Linked DNA regions of Homo sapiens: region 2 is linked to region 1. The links are contacts of gene promoters, found by promoter capture Hi-C in human tissues and cell types (Jung and others, 2019). All regions are on one chromosome and are shown on one strand. Each heading gives the region's core, a stretch centred on a gene start or on the middle of the fragment in contact. The rest is flanking DNA. Distances are from core to core; before and after follow the strand shown.

The links. The method cuts DNA at HindIII sites, captures the fragments that hold promoters and counts their contacts. A contact is called where the count stands out against the background at its distance.
Region 2: a fragment that was not itself captured here is called in contact with the fragment with the promoter of SEC14L3 in region 1 in 1 of the 25 tissues and cell types used here (lymphoblastoid cells).

The regions. Positions count from the first base shown.
Region 1 is chr22:30,469,001-30,475,783 of GRCh38, forward strand. SEC14L3 (SEC14 like lipid binding 3) reads right to left here and starts at 3,017. Exons shown (of 12, transcript NM_174975.5): 1 at 2,905-3,017; 2 at 1,507-1,582; 3 at 1,212-1,255; 4 at 1,019-1,078. The coding sequence starts at 2,958. The HindIII fragment of the contact is 19,065 bases long and covers 1-5,225 here.
Region 2 is chr22:30,758,468-30,765,250 of GRCh38, forward strand. The region is part of intron 2 of OSBP2 (oxysterol binding protein 2); the gene reads left to right. Among named protein-coding and RNA genes, the nearest start is that of MIR3200, 30 kb to the left of the region's middle. RefSeq lists a silencer at 5,463-5,512. The HindIII fragment of the contact is 5,000 bases long and covers 772-5,771 here.

The DNA.
Region 1 (6,783 bases), core at 1,767-4,266:
TGAAGGTTAACAGAGCTGGTTCAAAAACAGACACTGGCTGGGCATGGAGGCTCATGCCTGTAATCCCAGCTACTCAGGAGGTTGAGGCAGATGGGATCTCCTGAGGCCAGGAGTTTGAGACCAGCTTGGGCAACAGAGAGAGACCCTGTCCCTACAAAAATAAAAGAAATTAGCCAGCTGTGGTAATACACATCTGTAGACTTGGGAGGCTGAGGTGGGAGAATCACTTGAGCCCAGGAGTTCAAGGCTGCAGTGAGCCATGATCATGACACTGCACACCAGCCTTGGCAACAGAGTGAGACCCCATCCAAAAAAAAAAAAAAAAAGCAGATACTGCTGCTTCTGTACTGTGTGTCCTTGAGCAAGTGACACCACCTCTCTGAGCTCCATTCTACCTACTTTTTTTGTAAAATGGTTTGGATAACCCCTCACTCTTGGGACTGTTGGGGAAAGTCCCTGAGATAAAGTTGGCAAAGCAGAGTGCCCAGATCCGGGTACATGCCCTACAAGTGAAGACGTGACCATTACTCTACTAAGATGCCAGTGGTGGCACTGTCCTCATCAGTGCCTTGATGGGCTAAACTTCTTTCCCACCCAGACAGGATGCTTTAGGCAATGCCTTAGGGGGCAGGGGTGCAGAAGCACAGGCTAACCGTGGTGGTTACGAGCCTGGGTTTGGGGGCCCAAACAGGCCTGAGCATAAATCCCAGCCCTACCTTGGGCTATGGGACTGTGGGCAAGTTACCTAATTTTTGCTGGGCTTCAGTGTCCTCATCCACAAAATGGGGACAATAGCATCCATCATTGTGATGATTAAAGAAGCTCATGCTGCTAACATCTTAACCTAGGCCTGGACCTTGCAAGCCCCCAGGAAACATTCATTATGACTGTAGGAAAGGAGACTGCAGGCCTGCGGGTTCCACAGGCCTCTCAGGCTTGCTGCCCCTCATTCATGGTCCCCAGTGACCTTGAGTGGTACGTCCGTGAAAGACTGAGGTGTTTGGCGGTGTTGGCTCACCTCTGGGGGCTGCCAATCAAGGATATGGTCAATATCCATGGTCTTCCGGAACTCCATGTACTGAAAGGGAAATGAGTGGTAAGATCCCACTGGGCTCCCAGTGCCCTGAGAACAGGGATGGAAGGAGGGGCTTGAGGCATGGATTGCCCCTGACAAATCCCCTCCATAAATTTCCAGAGTGGATAGGTCTCACCTTGCGGAGCAAAGCCTCCGACTTCTGCAAGTCAAAATTCCGAGCTGTGGGAAAACAGAAGGAAGGTGTGAGACAGGAAAGATGCCTTGTCTTACTCCTGGCCAGTGGGAGCTATGGAGGACACTGGGGGCCTGGGTGAGACCTTGCTCCCCTACCCCCTTCCCTCCTCTGGACCTGAACATGTGAAGCAAGATTGTGTGGATGGACCCTGAGAGCCATGAGACACTCTGGAGCAGTTGAGACCAGGCCCCTCTTGATGCCCCCTGATCCCAACCTCTCCCACCTCTGCCCTCACCTCGGAGCCAGCGTAGAAGGAAATAATCATCAGGGTTGGGCAGGGCAGGAAGCACATCCTGGACGTTTTCTCGGAACTGGCAAGAGAGATGCTGGTTAAAGTGGCTCTCTCACATTGAGCCTTGGCCTCCAGACTCAAAGACTGTTTTCACAACCTCTCCTTTCCTCCCACATGCAAAATGGCCCACATTGATGAAAGGATGGGTTAATGGTTGAATAGAAGGGCAGATGGATCACTGGATAGGTGGATGAATGGAAGGAGGATAGATGGATGAATAAATGGTTAGAAAGAAGAATAGATGGGTGAGTGGGTAGGTAGATGGAAAAAGGGAGAAGAAATCAATGGATGAATGGATAGATGGATGGATGGAGAGTGGGTGGGTGGATAAATCAGTGAATGGACAGAGGAGAGATGGGTGGGTGATTGAGAGAAAGAAAGATGGATAGGTGGCTGCGTGGGTAGGAAGAGGGATGGGTGGATGAAAGAAAGGATAAACAGCCAGGTATGGTGGCTCACGCCTGTCATCCCAGCACTTTAGGAGGCTGAGGTTGGTGGATCACCTGAGGTCAGGAGTTTGAGACCAGCCTGGCCAACATGGTGAAAACTCATCTCTACTAAAAATACAAAAATTAGCCAGGTGTGGTGGCACATGCCTGTAATCCCAGCTACTCAGGAGGCTGAGGCAGGAGAATTGCTTGAACCTGGGAGACAGAGGCTGCAGTGAGCTGAGATCGCTCCACAGCACTCCAGCCTGGATGACAGAGACTCCATCTCAAAAAAAAGAAGAAAAAGAAGAAGAAAGGATAAATAATTGGGTGGATGAATAAGTGGATTGGAGTTTGGATGCATTCTTAGTTCCCTCCATGTGTTAGCCCTCAAAACATCTGCTTTTTTTCATCCCATCTTCTATTAAAACATGGTTAATAATTATATGTCCTCTTCTTCCTTTAGCTCTTTGAAAGACAACACTTTCTGCTCTGTCTCTTGGGCTTTTACAGACTGGTCATCTTTCAGGATCCCAAAGAGGAAGGGGTTAAAGGGCAGACCAGCAGCATCTTTCAGCTCCTACCTATGGTGCCTGGGAGGGAGGAACGGGGGTACCTGGCTGCCAGGTAAACCTCTCTGGTTCTGGCTCCTGGATGAGAAGAAGTCAGGCTTGACTTGGGTGGGCACCACCCACGTTATTGCCTGGAAGTGGTGCTAGTCCCTCAACCCCCGCCCGGGACAGGGTTGATGTTACTGGGCACCGTGGGGCTTGACCCTTTGGGAGGTAACACCAAAGAGACAATGTCAAGGACATGCTGAATCAACTGAGTGGGGCAGGATTCCAGCCACTTCTTTCCACCCCCCAGCCCCTTTCCCCTGGTCTTCCGGAACTCCAGGGGGAGGGGCTCTCACCTTGGCCAGGGTCTCTGCCTGTTTGGGGCTCAGGTCTCCAACTCGGCCGCTCATGGTGCTGGCTGGGGCTTGAGGAGTGGTGGCCACTATAGGCAAGAGGCCAAGCCTAGTTTGTCAGCCCTGACCCAGCTGGGTCCTTTTGCCCCCACTCCTGGGCGTGGCTCCAAGCGCCTCCTCATGGGCCAACTGTTTAAATTGCAGATTACATAATTGGGATTAAGTGAGGTCCCCTGCTTGGCTTGGGGACAGATCTGGAGGGGCAGGCGGGCATGGAGCGTGTGCCAGAGGTCCCCTGCCAGGAGGAGGCAGCTGGGAGGAAGGGAGGCTGGCCTCCCGTGACCTTGGAGCCCAGAGTGAGTGCCTGTAGAACCCGCTGACCCTCCCAGGCCTCCAGTGACCACTGCCCTGGAGAAGGGGGAGTTTCAGGAGAATGAGGACCGCTCCTTGTGGGTACCCTTTCTCCCTGAGCCCCAGTCTTCCCACACTTAGGATTCTGCAAAGATCACCCCCCTCTACCCAGCTCTGAAAGGGTAGGATTCTGAGGCTTGGTCAGTGTAGTAAACAGTTCATTCACTTTGTTGGGGGTGGGAGGCCCAGGTCCTTCTTTTGTGTCCACAGTCAAGAAGAGGACAGATGGCATCTTTTGAACGTCACTTGCTTCATTTATAAAATGGGGCCGTTAATGTTTGCCTTCCCCTCCTTATGTGGTTAGAGGGAAGATCTAATGAGACATAGGGACTGTCAAGGGTTGTGTGCATCTGAGGGATACTCTCCTTCAGCTCTCCTGGTCCCCCCTGGAGCTGTAAGCTTCAGCTCCAGGAAGGGAGAGACCCTGTTATCCATGACTCTCTCTGAAGAAACCATCAGCTTGAGGCTGCAGCATGGCCACATGGCCACATGGCCACATCTCAGCCTTGAGGGGGTCTGCATGGGCTGAAACCAACCCCGGGCTAGCCTCGGCCCCAGCAGCTGGGCTAGCCCACACCATTCTGCCTAGGGCTTTTCTAGGTCCCCTACTCCTGGGGCATCCTGGGTACCCACCCCTGAGCTACAGTGGGCCTCTATTCTGGGCTAACCCAGGGTCTCTTTAGGCTAGTAGATGTTGGTCAGTATCAGACATCTTCTCAGGGACATCTTCCTTGCTCTGGGCTCCTCACAGAGTTGGATCCAGAAGGAGAAGGCAGGGCTAATGCTGGCCATTTCCCTCTGCCTGGGGAGCCCGTGGCATGTACTCAGGAACAGTTAGGTAACTCTCCACACCCCAGCCCTGCCCCATTTCACATTCCAGCCTCAATTTCTGCAAAGCCCCAGCTGCTGTCTACACCCACTTCCTGCCAGGCCAGTAATGTACAGAGATTGGGTTCCTCCACTGCCCTTTCCCGAGCCACTAATCCTGCCCATTTCTCACCAGTCTCCTTTCTCACCCTAATCCCTATAATGTGAGGTGTGCTAGTTACTTCTAGGGGCATCGGAGACTGTGAAGGAGAGCCAGGAGGGAGGGTTGGGGGTCTCCTCAGGAGTTGTGAGCCTTCACACTGAGCTCTTTTCCTGACCCAGACCACAGATTTGTCAAGTACCTTGCTATGTTCACAAATCCTCATCAGCTACAGTGCCACTCCACAGAACTTCCTGTGATGGTAGACATCTTCTGTCTGGGGTGTCCTGTTAGACATATCTGGTAGCCACTAGTTACATGTGAAAGATGGTTAGCGTGACTGAGGAACTGAAGTTTTAATTGAATTGGATTTTGATACATTTTACTTTAAATTGTTCAATCTGGCTAGTGGTTACCATATTGGATGGTGCAGGTGGCCCATTTTTATTTTATTCTACTTTATTTTATTTTATTTTTGAGACAGGGTCTCACTCTGTTGCCCAGGCTGGAGTGCAGTGGCATGATCTCGGCTCACTACAGCCTCGACCTCCCCAGGCTCAATCAATCCTCCCCACCTCAACCCCCCGGAGTAGCCTGGACTGCAGGCACATTCCACCACGCCCTGCTAATTTCTTATATTTTTTGTAGAGATGGGGTCTCATTACATGCATTACCTCATTTTGGCCTGGTGAGGTGGCTCACACGTGTAAACCCAGCACTTTGGGAGGCCGAGGCAGGTGGATCACCTGAGGTCAGGAGTTCCAGACCAGCCTAGCCAACATGGCAAAACCGTGTCTGCTAAAAATACAAAAATTAGCCGGGCGTGATGGCGGATGCCTGTAATCCCAGTTACTCAGGAGGCTGAGGCAGGAGAATGGCCCGAACCTGGGAGGCGGAGGTTGCAGTGAGCCGAGATCATGCCACTGCACTCCAGCTTGGGGGACAGAGTGAGACTCCATCTCAAAAAAGAAAAAAGCAGTGCATTACCTCATTTAAACCTCAGAACATACCTGTGGTGTTGGGTAGGTACTATTACGCCCATTATGCAGATAAGCAAACTGAGGTATGGAGAAGTAACTTATCCAGGGGTAAACCCATGCAATTAACCACTCTGCCATTGTGCTGTTATGCTATCCCATAGTCTTGGCTCTAGGAGCTTCCACCTTAGTTAGGGAGAGAGCCTAAGCATGAAAGTCACCTATATGTGATGCAGTTGGCATCTGAGCCAGGCCTTGAAGAAAGGAAGGATTTTGATTTATGGAGAGCAGAATAAAGGGCATCCCAAGTGGAGGGGATGGCATGGGCAAAGGCATGGAGGTGGGAAAGTGAGAAGCATGTGGAGGGGGTAGATTACAGCAAACAAGACAGATTAGGACCCAGCTTGCATAGAGCTCACAGTCTCCCATTGGTGAGCATACCCTCTGTGCTGGGAGCTTTATATCATTATCAAATCATTCAGAAGCAGGTATGGGTATTCCCATTTTACAGCTAAACAAATAGAAGTTCAGAGAGATCAAGAAACTTTTCTGAGGTCACACAGCCAGTAAATGAGGAGCCAGAACTTGAACCCAAACCTATCTGACTCTGGATTGCACAGCCCACCCTGCTTTCCCCTGTAGGGCTTAATATTGTGTCCAGAATATAGTAAGTGCTCAATAAATGCTTTAAATCGTCATTGTGTAGAAGCCTGGATCTGCCTGGATTCAAGCTGGATTCAGGCTGCAGGGTGTCTTGGGGCCAGAAGGGTTAATTTTGCCTGCCTTGAAACAAAGGCCTTGGGGAAGGAGAGACCCCCAGCCTGCCCCCTAAACCCCAGAGCACACTGTCTACAGGTAAGGTCCCATGTGTGTTTGGCTCCTCATTTACCAAGCTCTCAGGGGACCATGGCAACAACCACAACTTAAACAAACAACCGCAGGTGGGTAGATAGAGCTGCTTGCGCCCCAACCTCTCCTGTCAGCCGGTTACTAGGAAATCTGAAACAGCCACCCCTTTCAGTCCATCCCTGGCACATTCCTGATCACCCTCCCTCCCAGGATGGATCTTGCCAGAAGCAGTTGGGTAGGTCTAAAGGGGCCCTTCCCGGGGGTACAGGAGCCTCGACATAGGGCAGGCATCACTGGGAGGAGGTGAGTAGGGGGCATTTAGACCACACAGATGTGAAGTGGGTGGCCTGAAAAGGGGAGATGGAAGCCAGGTGCCGAGGCTCACACCTATAATCCCAGTGCTTTGGGAGGCTGATGTGAGAAGATTGCTGGAGGCCAGGAGTTTGAGATCAGCCTGGCAACATGGTGAGACCCTGTCTCTTCAAAAAATTTAAAAATTAGCTGGGCATGATGGCGTACACCTGTAGTCCCAGTTACTTGGGAGGCAGAGGCAGGATCGCTTGGGCCCAGGAGTTTGAGGCTGCAATGAGCTTTGATAGGGCCACTGCACTCCAGCCTGGGCAACAGAGTGAAAGCTTATCCTTTAAAAAAATAAAAGGGTTGCAGGGAGATGGAAAG
Region 2 (6,783 bases), core at 2,022-4,521, 290 kb after region 1:
GTAGCCACAAGCAGACTAGAGAAGACCAGAATCTGAGGTAACACCAAACAGGTGGTGAGGTTACAATTTTTTCCCTCCAGTATCTTCTAGAGTGGACTCAGGGGAGACCCAGAAGTGAGCAGACAGAGAAAACTCCTGGAGAAGCCCTCTAGTTCAGGCTCAAGGAGGAAAGGGTCCCCTGTCAGTGATAGCAGTGGCGATGAGAGGCCTGCAGGTACCAAAAACTCAGAGGAATCCATGCACACCAGTAGGAAGAGCTCTGGGCCCAAGAAGTGAGGGAACCCCTGTTCCATTTTTCTCTCACTCTTCCTACCACTTAGCCCCCGATATAGGTGTGGTGGTGGGAAGTGGGCAGCCAGAGGACTGAAACAGAGCCCAAGAGAACCAGAAAAAAACAGGAAATCACAGAAAGAGAACACCTTGGGAAAGTGACCCCATAACGTTGTTTTCATGAACTCCTGGCTTCACGTTCAAGCCGCACATGGATGGATCTGATCCTAAACAGCATACTAAAGATTTTGAGAACTGAACTTAAAGCTGCATGAATACCCACGTCCCTGTGGCCACTGGCTGGCACACATGTGGAACAGATCCAACTAGTACTGCAAAGGGCCGGGCGCAGTGTAACCTGGCACTTTGGGAAGCCGAGACAGGTGGATCACTTGAGGCCAGGAGTTCGAGACCAGCCTGGCCAACACGGTGAAACCCCGTCTCTACTAAAAATACAAAAATTAGCCAGGCGTGGTGGTGCACACCTGTAATCCCAGCTACTCGGGAGGCTGAGGCAGGAGAATCGCTTGAGCCTGGGAGGCAGAGCTTGCAGTGAGCCGAGATTGCACCACTGCACTCCAGAGCAAGACTCTGTCTCAAAAACAAAAACAAATAGTACTGCAAAGGCTTTGAAAATGGAACAAACAGTGAAACCACCACCCAGAGACGGCTGGTCACTACCTGTGGCCTTAACCCAACTTATTTGATAGACTGCTAAAATGAAAATATCAAATTACCAACATCAGGAATGAAATAAACAATTAATAGCACTAACAAACATAAAAGGACAATACTACAAAAACATAAAATAGATACATAATACATAAAAGGAATGCTACAGACAACTCTGCTGACAAATTTGACAACTTGGATGAAATGAACCAATTCTTCAAAAATCAAATTCTAACACTTGCCCAAGATCAAATCCATAAACTGAATAATCCTATAACTATTAAAGAAGTTGCATTCATAGTTTAAAACACTTCAAAAAAGAAGTCTTCAGGCCTACATGATTTCACAGGTAAATTTTATCAAATATTTGAAAAAAGAATAACACTATTTCCACACAATCTCTTCCAGAAAACAGAAGAGGAATGAGTAATTTCTTTTCTTTTTTAATTTTTCTTTTCTTTTTTTTTTGAGACAGTGTCTCGCTCTGTTGCCCAGGCTGGAGTGTGCAGTGGTGCAGTCTTGGCTCACTGCAACCTCTGCCTCCCAGGTTCAAGCAGTTCTCCTCCCTCAGCCTCCTTAGTAGCTGGGATTACAGGCATGTGCCACCACGCCCAGCTAATTTTTTTTTTTGTATTTTTAGTAGAGACAGGGTTTCACCATGTTGGCCAGGGTCATCCTGAACTACTGACATCAGGTGATCCGCCTGCCTTGGTCTCCCAAAGTGCTGGGATTACAGGCGTGAGCCACTGCACCCGGCTTTTTTTTTTTTTTTGAGACAGAGTCTTGCACTGTTGCCCAGGCTGGTCTCAAACTCCTGACCTCAAGTGATCTGCTCGCCTTGGCCTCCCAAAGTGCTAGGATTACAGGAGTGAGTAATTTCTAACTCATTTATAAGGACAGCATACCCTGATACCAAACTGAACAAAGATAGTGTAAGAAAAGAAAACTTCGGACCAATATTTCTCATGAGCATAGATGAAAACATCTTCAACAAAATATTAACAATTTGAAACCAGCAATACAATAGAATATTACACCATGATCAAGTGGATTTCATGCTAGGAGTGCAAGATGAGTGCAAGATAGGTGCAAGATAGGTTCCATGTTTGAAAATCAATAAATGGGGCTGGGGGCAGTGGCTCACACCTGTAATCCCAGCACTTTGGAAGGCCAATGCAGGCAGATCACTTGAAGTCAGGAGTTCAAGAGCAGCTTGGCCAACATGGTGAAACCCTGTCTCTACTGAAAATACAAAAATTAGCCAGGCATGGTGGTGCACACCTGTAGTCTCAGCTACTTAGGAGGCTGAGTCAGGAGAATCGCTTGAACCCTGGCAGGGCGGAGGTTGCAGTGAGTGGAGATCGCACCACTGCACCCCAGCCTGGGCAACAGAGCAAGACTCTGTCTCAAAAAAAGAAAAAAAAAAGAAAATCAATATAAATGGAATCATAATATTAACAATCTAAGAAAAACTACATTATAATATCAATTGATACAGAAAAAGGCATTTGACAAAATTTAACATTATTCATGGTAAAAACTCTCAGCAAACTAGGAGACTCCTCCACCTGATTAAGGGCATCTTCAAGAAACTGACATCATATGTAGTGATAGAAGACTGAATGCTTTACTTTCCGCCTAGGATCAGTAAAGTCAAGGATGTCCATGCTCACCCCTCATATTCATCCTAATACTAGCCAGTATTATAATGCAAGAAAAAAGAAGTCAAAGGCACTCAGATTGGGAAGAAAGAAACAGAGCTATCCCTATTTGCAAGCGACATGATGGCTGTGTAGAAAAATCCCAGGAAATCTACAAAAATATTTTTAGAGTGAGTTTAACAAGGTCACAGAATACAAGGTCAGTACATAAAGGCCAGTCATATTTCTGTGTATTAGCAATGAACAATTGGTAACAAAAAATTTTTAAAAATCACTTACAATGACCCCATGAAATACTTAGATATAATTATAACAAAACAAATATAGTATCTATATGTAAATAGTGTTAAATACTGATGAAATAGAAGACCAAAATAAATGGAGAGACATACAATGCTCATGGATCAGAAGATTCAAGAGAGTAAAGACGTCAGTTTTCCCTTGACTGATCAGTAGCTTGAATGCAATTCCAAAAAAAATCCCAGCAGGACATTTTCTCAGCATAGACAAACTTATTATACATTTATATGAAAAGATAAAGAAATTAGACTAGCTAAAGCAACTTTGAAAAAGAAGAATAAAGGTGGAGTAATTACTCAATTTTAAGACTTATCATAAAGAAACAAGACAGTGTGATGTTGGCAAACACTATATAGATTAATGAGATAGACATATACATTAATGGAACAGAATGGAGAGTCCAGAAATGGGCCCAGACAAATATGGTCAGATGGCTTTTGACAGAGGTGCAGAAACAATTTAATTGAGAAAGGTTAGTCTTTTCAACAAGTAGTGTTGGAACAATTGGACATCCATATGCAATAAAATGAATCTTGATTTATACTTCTTATTTATATAAAATTTAACTCAAAATGTAAACCATACAACTATAATACTCCCAGCAGTTTGGGAGGCCGAGGCGGGTGGATCACTTGAGCCCAGGAGTTCGAGACCAGCCTGGGCGATATGGCGAAACTCCATCTCTACCCAAAATAGAAATATTAGCCAGGCATAGTGGTGTGCAACTGTAGTCTCAGCTATTTGGAGGCTGAGTCAGGAGAGAATCATTTGAACCTGGGAAGCAGAGGTTTCAGTGAACCGAGATTACACTACTGCACTCCAGCCTGGGTGACAGAGTGAGACTCCATCTCAAAAAATAAAAAATAAAAAATAAAATAAAAATAAAATGCAATTTTGGGCCGGGCGCGGTGGCTCACGCCTGTAATCTCAGCACTTTGGGAGGCCAAGGCGGGTGGACCACGAGGTCAGGAGATCGAGACATCCTGGCTAACACGGTGTAACCCTGTCTCCACTGAAAATACAAAAAATTAGCCGGGCGTGGTGGCGGGCGCCTGTAGTCCCAGCTACTCGGGAGGCTGAGGCAGGGGGTGAACCCAGGAGGCAGAGCTTGCAGTGAGCTGAGATTGCACCACTGCACTCCAGCCTGGGCAACAGAGCAAGACTCCGTCTCCAAAAAAAAAAAATGCAATTTTGATTTATGTCTCTTCTCTGGCTCCTCTTGCGCTCTAGACCCATCCAGCTTCTGCTGTCTTCACTGGCACACCATCTTGCTGCCAGCCAGCGTGAATGCTGTACCTCTTGTTGGCAAGGTCTGTTCCCTAGTATCCAGCCCCTTCCCACACCCTATTTTCCTCAAGTCTGTTTACCCTCCAGGGAGAGGCCATTCAGGAAAGCCTTCTCTGAGCCAGCCTCCTGCCTGGGCCAGATGTTTGCTCCCAGGTGTTTGCTCCTTGGCTCAGCCCCTCGAGCATGGTAGCGTAGCAGTTAGTCTGAGCATGGGCTTCCTAGAGCCTCAGAGTCCCCGCTTGTCAGTCCCCTAGAAGCTTCAATTCTGTGCTTCCCAGGGTCCCTTCAATCAAAGATTTCTAAGTCAGTGGAAGCAGAGATGCTGGAGCCAGCCTGCCTGGGTTCAAATCGTGGCTCCCACACTTACCCACTGTGTGACCTTGGACAAGTTGCTTGCCGTCTTTTGCATCATTTCTCTCCTTTGTAAAATGGGTTTCATGATAGAACCAACTCTTAGAGGTGCTGTGAGGATTAGTTTAGATAATGTGTGAAGAGATCTTGGCACACGGCTTGGCAAACACTCGACTAAAGTAAGCTGCAGTTATTGATAGTCACTTTCGCAGCTTTAAAATAATACAGGTTCCCAAGAAGTCCCCTGCCCTGCTAAAACAGAATGAGAATGACTTTTGGGTGCAGAGGGTATTTGTATTTTTTTTCAAAAGCTCCTTGAGTGGGATTGGCAGATTCAAAATATACAAACACAGGTTGGCCGGGTGCAGTGGCTTACGCCTGTAATCCCAACACTTTGGGAGGCTGAAGTGGACAGATCACTTGAGGTCAGAAGTTCAAGACCAGCCTGGCCAACATGGTGAAACCTGTTTCTACTGAAAATACAAAAATTATCCAGGTGTGGTGGTGCATGCCTCTAATCCCAGCTACTTGGGAGGCTGAGGCAGGAGAATTGCTTGAACCCAGGAGGTGGAGGTTGCAGTGAGCCGAGATTGAGCCACTGCTCTCCAGCCTGGGCAACAGAGTGACAGAAAAAAAAAAAAAAACCCACAGGTCACCCAGTTTAATTTGAGCTTCAAATACAAAACGAATAATATTTTAGTATAAGGATGTCTCATGCAATATTTGGGCAGTCTATATACTAAAATTTATTTATTGTGTGTCTGAAATTCAAATGTAACTGGGCATCCTGCATTTTATCTACGAGCATTTAACCCTATCCTGGGGGACCTTGACCCCCAGCCCACTTGGGGTCTCTGCTCCCAACTCCCTGGTCCAAAGGCAAACCTCCAAGTCAGAAAAGAGATAGTATCCTTTTACTTGACACAGGGGGGCGCTAGAAGATGGCTTGTTCGCTTTCTTTTCTGTAACTCAGTGTCTAGGGAAGCACCAGCAGGTTGGCTGGCTTGCAACAAATCTCTCCGTACCTGTGAGTCATTTTCTGATGTTCAGGTTTGTAAGAAACCGATACAGAGCTGGCCACCTCCCTCTTGGGCCTTCACTTCTGGGGGGCTAGCCTAGCGCCTCAGGGGCTCCCCGGTTCTCGCCTCCCCTAGGCTCGCCTACCCTCCATTGATGTCATAACTCTATTCTGATATCACAGCCCAGCACTTGGAATTATCCCAGGCAGCCCAGGCTCTGCCCTTAGAGCAACTAGAGCAGGCAGTAGAGTGGGGTGGGCGGGGATGAGGAGGGGGTTGGGTGGCTGGTGGCCCTAGAGGCTGGCCCTAAAGAATACCTGGACAGCCTGCCACCCTATTGCTCCAAAATGAAAATCCTCTAACAGGTAGGACTTGGAAGAATTTCCTCCTGTTCCTGTTGGGTGTGATCCCACTGAGGTGGAAATAAATTCCCAGGGAGTGTGGCGTTGTTCTGGCTCTGTAAACAGCTCTCGGGAACCCTGCTGCCTGTGTGCCTGGGGATGCAAGTGGGCTTGGTCCACTTAACAGTCCTCTCTTCCCGTTTGAAGGAATGACTTCACAAAGCACAGTGTTTCTTACTTGTTGGGGGAGACATTCCTTAGGGCTTGGAGAATGCCTGCAGATACTGATCCAGGTTCTTCTGTGGCCACTGCCTCTGTCCTCACTCCCTAAGAAGATGGATGGGAACAGGGTTATGCTCTCCTTAGAACAAAGGGAAAATATAGGTGCATTCAAGCTATTGACCCTCAGACCCCTCAGTCCTGAGGAGGAGAGAAGCCCCATCCTCCCAGCTGGCCAGACAGTATAAAGAACTCTCTTATGAACTCACTTGAGTGAAAATTTGACTGGTATGGATTAAACAACACAAGAAAAGAAAACTGAATAACTTCTCTCTTACTTTGAGGGACATGAAGTCTTCCTGGGGGAGCATGTTAAAACTGCAGATTCCTAGGGCAGGACCACTGAGATTCAGATCCGATGGTCATATGGCACCTAGGGACCCCCATTTTAATTTTTATTTGTTTTAATTTAATTTAAATTTTTTTTATAGAGACAGGGCCTCACCGTGTTGCCCATGCTGGTCTCAAACTGCTGGGCTCAGGCAATTTTCCTGCCTCGGCCTCCCAAAGTGCTGGATTACAGGTGTGAGACACCCGGCCCTCCCCCATTTTTATTTTTTATTTTTATTTATTTATTTTTGAAATGGAGTCTTGCTCTGTTGC